Linked DNA regions of Homo sapiens: region 1 is linked to region 2. Evidence: promoter capture Hi-C in human tissues and cell types (Jung and others, 2019). All regions are on one chromosome and are shown on one strand. The core of a region is centred on a gene start or on the middle of the fragment in contact, and the rest is flanking DNA. Distances in the headings are between cores, read along the strand shown. Region 1 overlaps MPP7 (MAGUK p55 scaffold protein 7). Region 2 holds the start of MKX (mohawk homeobox).

Region 1 (3,160 bases), core at 325-2,824, 520 kb before region 2:
AGTAACCTAAAATATTTGTGACAACTTTTTAAAAGGACTTGCAGTTACTGGCTTAATGCATTGTGCCTCTTTGGGATATACTGTTAGTTTCATTATAAATTACTAGTTCAGTCAAAAATTATATTATTGGCTGGGCATGGTGGCTCACACCTGTAATCCCAGCACTTTGGGAGGCCGAGGCCGGTGGATCACAAGGTCAGGAGAGCGAGACCATCCTGGCCAACATGGTGAAGAAAAAAAAAAAAATATATATATATATATATACATATATATATATATGTATATATATATATATATGTATATATATATATATATGTATATATATATATATATATATAATTTATTTATTTATTTATTTCCTTTTTCTTTTTTTTGAGACAGAGTCTTGCTCTGTCGCCCAGGCTGGAGTGCAGTGGTGCATTCTCAGCTCACTGCAACCTCTGGTCCCAAGTTCAAGCGATTCTCCTGCCTCAGCCTCCTGAGTAGCTGGGACTACAGGTGTGCGCCACCATGCCCGGCTAATTTTTTGTATTTTTAGTAGAGATGGGGTTTCACCATGTTGGCCAGGCTGGTCTTGAACTCTTGACCTCAAGCAATCCACCCACCTCGGCCTCCCAAAGTGCTGGGATTACAGGTGTGAGCCATAATGGGGTCTTGTTATGTTGCCCAAGCTGGTCTCGAGCTCCTGGGCTCAAGCAATCCTCCTGCCTCGGCCTCCCAAAGTGTTGAGGTTACAGACATGAGCCATTGGCACCTGGCCAAAAATTATAAATGGAGAGATAGAAAGTGAGATAAACCGGTCTCTCTCTCAGGATAGAGAAATGTATTTGTGAGTATATTGTATGATCAGTTTCTTGTACTACATTGGAGGGTGTTCTACGTCATTGTCATTGGGGTGTGTCTGATATCCACACTCTGTGTACTCTGGGGTCACCTGATGGAGAAGGCTGTGCTGCCTAGGTATGTATTTGGAGGTCAGCAGAAGAGTGGAGGTGTTGCAACCTTGGATAAGTACTGTGGCTTTCTCTGCTGTCCCACTTATGACCACATTTAGGATAGAATGGCAGGGACAATGGTTTGCCTCGCTTAAATCTTAGTGGAACTATGGTGACTGCGCTGGATCTGGTCTTTGACTCATTTCAATATAAAAAGCACTGGCCAGTGGAGCGCAAAGCCACCGTGTTGGTGGGAAGTATGTTTGTGATAAACACCATAGGGTTCCACCCCAGTGAATGACTTGGGCAGTCTTTCGTTAAGTCATGGTTCAGTGTTCTGCTCACCTTGCTAGGAAGGAAAGTGTTCACAGTTAATTCTGTGTTTTCTCACCTGTGTGTAGGATCTACTTTTGCTAACAAGCATACATCACTGCCAAAATGGTTAATTCTGGAAAGAGAACTACAGAGACAAAGTATATAAAGAGCAATTTTTCTTAGTTGAAAGATTAAAGATAATTGATTGAATTGGGGACCCATCTGGCTTTGTGATTTGCTGGAGTGACTTATGAAAACTAATTGCTTTGGTAAAGAACTAGGCTATTAAAGAATAAATTTTATAGTGTAATTTTGTAGGCACCTTACATACTTGGAAAAACCATTTGAATTCTTTCTCTAACATCAATTGGGCATAAAATAAATCAACTCACACTGAGTTGAAATGCATCATGTAGAAAACAGAGCCTTTTCACTTTCACTTTAAATTGTGCCAGAAGAAACATGCTATTTAAAAAAAATTTTTTTTTTTTTTTTTTTTTTTTTGAGATGGAGTCTCTCTGTTACCCAAGCTGGAGTGCAGCAGCACAATCTTGGCTCACTGCAACCTCCGCCTCCTAGGTTCGAGCGATTCTCCTGTCTCAGCCTCTTGAGTAGGTGGCACTACAGGCATGTGCCACCATGTCTGGCTAATTTTTGTATTTTTAGTAGAGACAGGGTTTTGCCCTGTTGGTCAGGCTGGTCTCATTCCTGACCTCAGGTGATCCGCCCACCTTGGCCTCCTAAAGTGTTGGGATTACAGGCATGAGCCACCATGCCTGGCCAGAAACATACTATTTGGTTAGAACATAGTTAAATATAGTCTCTGGTATTTTCATATGTTTTAGATTTCTTTATCTTGACAAGTGATTGAAGGAAAGAACCATTTATAGTCTGTAGGTATAAGGAAGCTTTGTATAACTGCTTCAGATCATTAACTAATGCATACATATAGACTAATACATAATATAATACATAGATCATTTATAGAGAGCCAGGGAGACTGGAATGGATGAATTGCCACTGGAAATGATTGAATACTTTTTAGATAATTAAGCATGTATTAATTAACAAGTAGAAAGAGGGATGGACTCAAATATGTCGATGATGATAATGCCATAAAATTATTGTAACAGTATTTATAAATAGCTGCTAATATAGTGTTTTCTGTGTTTTTGTTTGTTTTGTTAAATATCAATGTTTCCTAAGTATGGACATGCAGGGTTATTTCTGAAGTATTCTAATGAAGAGTTTTTGTTTTAAGCACTATGCTTTTCTTGTTATGGGGGACAGAGTGACAGACTCTTGCTCTGTCACCCAGGCTGGAGTGCAGTGGCACAATCATGGCTCACTGCAGCCTTGACTTCCTGGACTCAGGTGATCCTCCCACCTCAGCCTCCTGAGCAGTTGGCATTACAGGGGCACACCACCGTGCCTGGCTAATTTTTTGTATTTTTTTGTAGAGATGGGATTTTGTCATGTTGCCCACGCTCTGGCCTAGAACTCCTGGGCTCAAGCGATTCTCCCACCTCAGCCTCCCAAAGTACTGGGATTCCAGGCATGAGCCACTGCACCTGCCCATATGCTTTTATTTTCATGCATATTAGAAAACATAACTAACTCATCTCCTGCCTCCCTGCATCCTTCTCTTCTCTCCCCTCCCCCTCCCCTCATCTTTTTCTTTTTCTTTTTGATGGAGTCTCTCTCTGTCACCCAGGCTGGAGTGCAGTGGTGCAATCTCGGCTCACTGCAGTGGTTCAGTCCCACCTCCTGGGCTCAAGTGATTCTCCCTCCTCAGCCTCACAAGTAGCTGGGACTACAGGCGTGCACCATGACGCCTGGCTAATTTTTTGTATTTTTATCAGAGACAGGGTTTCACCATGTTGCCCAGGCTGGTCTCGAACTCTTGAGCT
Region 2 (3,346 bases), core at 53-2,552:
TTTGCTATCGCGTAATTTGGGAGGTGACACATATGAAATTTGAGGGTGTGATTAGTCTTTAAAATAATAGTTTTGGTATATATTTTAAGCACTTCTAGCGACCCCCCCAACACACAAACACACACACACACACGCGCACACACACACACACACACGAAGAAGATGCTAAGGTGGGCCACTGCCCCGGCTCTGGCCAGCCGCATTTAGAGGGGAAAAGGACAAATGGCGCTATTTCTTTAAGCTTGGTGGGGGGAAATCTAAGTTTGTTCTTTAAAAAGGGCGAAAGTTCGCTAGGACCACAGGGCCTTCGGCGAGAGCGCAGGCAGCTTCGTGTTGGCACCTTGGGGATCTTCTGGGCTGCCAGAAGCTCTGAGCTTGCAGTTGCACCTAAACCGCCGCTTTCGCTACTTATATTTGCGGTAATGTTAGGAAGCAAAGTATCATCAATCAGAGAATCTGGTAGCCATTCTCTCTCTTTGCCCTGTGTCCCAGCTTGTGATTCTTCTAAGTTCCATCTCCTTTGCTGCGTGCAGATCCTTGGCTTTGGGCGCGCTTCCTCTTCTGCACTTGGGCCACCGCGGGTTGGCCACCTGGGCTGAACTCATCCCATCCTTGCTTTCCCCCATCCCTATACCCAGCGGCGAGGGCAGCCTCACCAGCCCTTGCCCCGGAGGTGAATGTGTGCCTGGCTTTGACTGAGACAACTAGGACCCCAGAAGCCCAGTGACATCAGAAAAGAGGCTCCTGGGCACTAGCACTTCCCGCAATACGCTCCAGGGCTGTAGGTGCAAAACGGAGCTCTAACTTCCCTCCAGCTAATCGAGAGGAAAATACAGGGCGCGTCACAGTGGCCTCTCCCGCCTAGCCACGCGCAGTGAAATTTCCGGCAATCGGGCCAGCTAAGACACGGGATTTGCACCGCAGCCTCTCAGCTTCTGGAGCCGGAGCCGAGCGCTCCCGGCAGCTTCTCCAATTTCTCTCCTAAAGTGCGAAGGGAAAAGCCCCGTCTGCTCCACGACTGCAAGGCCGGCGGATCTGGGAGCCGCGCCCGGCTCCGGAGGACTCGGCGGGCCCGGGGCTCCCCGGCAGCGGCTCCTCTGCTAGGGGTTAACAGCAGCCCCCGCGGCCGGGCGGGCGCGGACGCTTCCTCTCCACCCGCCCGGGAACGTGGATACCGCGCCCGCAGGATGTTCGCCGGCTGGGACCGGCAGTCAGGAAACATGAGAAGGCCTCGCTATTCCTGTTCCCGGGCGGCGCGCGCCGGGCTGGGTAAATAAAGCCGAGACGACGGCGGTGGCGGTGGTGAGCGCGCTGGAGCCCGCGTGGAGAACATGCGGCGGGGATGGGAGTGCGCCTAGTCTCGAGGCGGGAGAGCCAGCCGCCCTGCAGCCGGCCGTCGGCCCCGCAGCCACAGGTACAGCCCCCGCGTCGCCGAGTCTCAGCCGGCTGCGGCGGAACGCCAGGCTCGCTCTGGCCCCTGCGCCCTGGGCGCCGGTGCTCTCCCGCCCTTCCCCCAACTTCCCTCCAAGGTCTGGTGGAGAGGCGCTCGGGTAGCGGCCAAGGCTGGCCCAAGGGTCTGCGCGGAGCTTGGGAGCCCACCTGGCCGCGCCTCCTTTGCTTTAAAATTATTCGCCGGCGTTGGGGGAGGGGGACACTTCTGCAGGGAGTGACCTCCCCGGCCACAGTCTGGAGTGAATCGGGGTAAGTGATTTGAGAAGAGGCGCGGGTGGCCGCGCGCGGGAGTCCTGGGAGGGTCAGCAAGTGTGGTTCACACGCCCCCGGACCCCTTGCGACAGGACAGCGCTCGGACCTTTGCCATCGCTTGCCTCTGAGCCTGCTGCCTGCAGACCTACAGCGCGCCGGGTGTCTGTGTCTGCGATCTCTGCGTGGGCTTGGGGCTGCCGGGGAAGTGTCCGAGGTGGCTAACCTCGTGATGACTTCGCTAGGAAAAACACGTCGTCGCATCTAGGAGGACGCGCTGGGGTGGCTCGGAGAAGGCCGGGCCGGGGAAGGGTGTCTTGTACAAATAAAGCAGCATGAACACACATCCCTAAGGGCATGATTTTAAAAGAAAACACCAACGCGAGTCTTGACTGTAGAACAGGGGCTGCAAGCACGAAAATTCTCTTTGACACTTATCACCGAGGCTATGTGCACACCCCAGGCACGTACCTGTCTGCGCGGGAGGACGCAGTCCTAGGGGACACACGACATCCAGCAGAGGTCTGACTTCACTTCCCTACGAACACAGACCGTAGCCGTCGTTTGATCGCGGTGGTCACGCGTGGTCCTAAATGTCACGCGTGGCCTCTGCTGCGGTGGCCGAAGGGCGGGGCGGGGGCGTTGGCGAGTGTGGGCGCTTGGCGAGGCAAAGGGTGTGTGTGTGTGTGTGTGTGTGTGTGTGTGTGTATGCGCGCGCGCGTGTGTTAGTGGAGTAGCAGCCCATGCCGCGGCTGGACGGGCAAAGGGGGCGCTGGCAGCGAAGCTGAGGCCGCTCGGAGGAAACGGGAGCTGTCCCGAGGCGCGAGGCGAGGAGATGGGGCGGGCGAAGTCCGCCGCGCGCCTTGGGGCTGTAACTCTGCGGCTCCGCGGCCGCGCGGACTTGCTCCTGACGCCGGTGCGCGGCAGGCAGAGGCTCAGGGCCTCCGCGACCCCAGAGGTGAGCTGCTGGCTCTCCCCGACAGTGGCAGCAGTGGCCCGGGAGGTGCGCCGACCAAGCTGCCTCCTGCCTTGGGCTTCTGACACCTTTACAGCCTCTGAAAGGGTCCCCGGAGACCCCAGAGAGAGGCGGGTGTCGAGGGGCTACGAGCTCGCGGCTGACACCCGCGCTGCGGAAGAGAATGGCACTGATTGAGGGCTCTGGGGACCTGGGTCCTGGCGCCTTGGACCTTAGGACCATGCACTTCCCGGGGCGCGTTGGGGGATGATAGGAAGATTCTGGGAGAGAAGGGGGAGAAGTGGTGCTTTCGTCCTGACGCCACTTAACTTTTTCCTGTCCTTGAACCCAACCTCACCCCGGGGGACCTTGGCGGACAGAAGATGCGGGGGTTTCAACCAAACCATCCACGATCTAGAAAACACGAAAATCCCCCAAATCCCGGTATGGCCTGGGACTCATGAGCTGGGGGGTCTTGTGGATACGGTTGGCACATTACCCCAAATCTTCCCTTCCATCCAACCCCTCCTGACGCCCCGAGTTGGGGTTCCTAGAGGCTTTAGTCTTCTGCTGTGATTGAAGAACCACGCGCGGCCTCACGCCGGTCGCGCTCCGCAGTCCGGAGTATGCCTCTCCCAGATTCAAACTGAAACCCAGAGGCTCGTTTGGGAATTCGTTTCCTTTGCCTCT

What was found. Contacts are between HindIII fragments. The study calls those that stand out against the background at their distance.
Region 1: a fragment that was not itself captured here is called in contact with the fragment with the promoter of MKX in region 2 in 1 of the 25 tissues and cell types used here (H1 embryonic stem cells).

What each region holds. Positions count from the first base shown.
Region 1 is chr10:28,259,364-28,262,523 of GRCh38, reverse strand. The region is part of intron 1 of MPP7 (MAGUK p55 scaffold protein 7); the gene reads left to right. Among named protein-coding and RNA genes, the nearest start is that of MIR8086, 28 kb to the left of the region's middle. The HindIII fragment of the contact is 3,764 bases long and covers 1-3,160 here.
Region 2 is chr10:27,743,775-27,747,120 of GRCh38, reverse strand. MKX (mohawk homeobox) reads left to right here and starts at 1,302. Exons shown (of 7, transcript NM_173576.3): 1 at 1,302-1,414. It overlaps MKX-AS1 (MKX antisense RNA 1), which reads right to left and starts at 2,506. Exons shown (of 2, transcript NR_121652.1): 1 at 2,173-2,506. RefSeq lists an enhancer at 1,221-1,811. The HindIII fragment of the contact is 9,708 bases long and covers 1-3,346 here.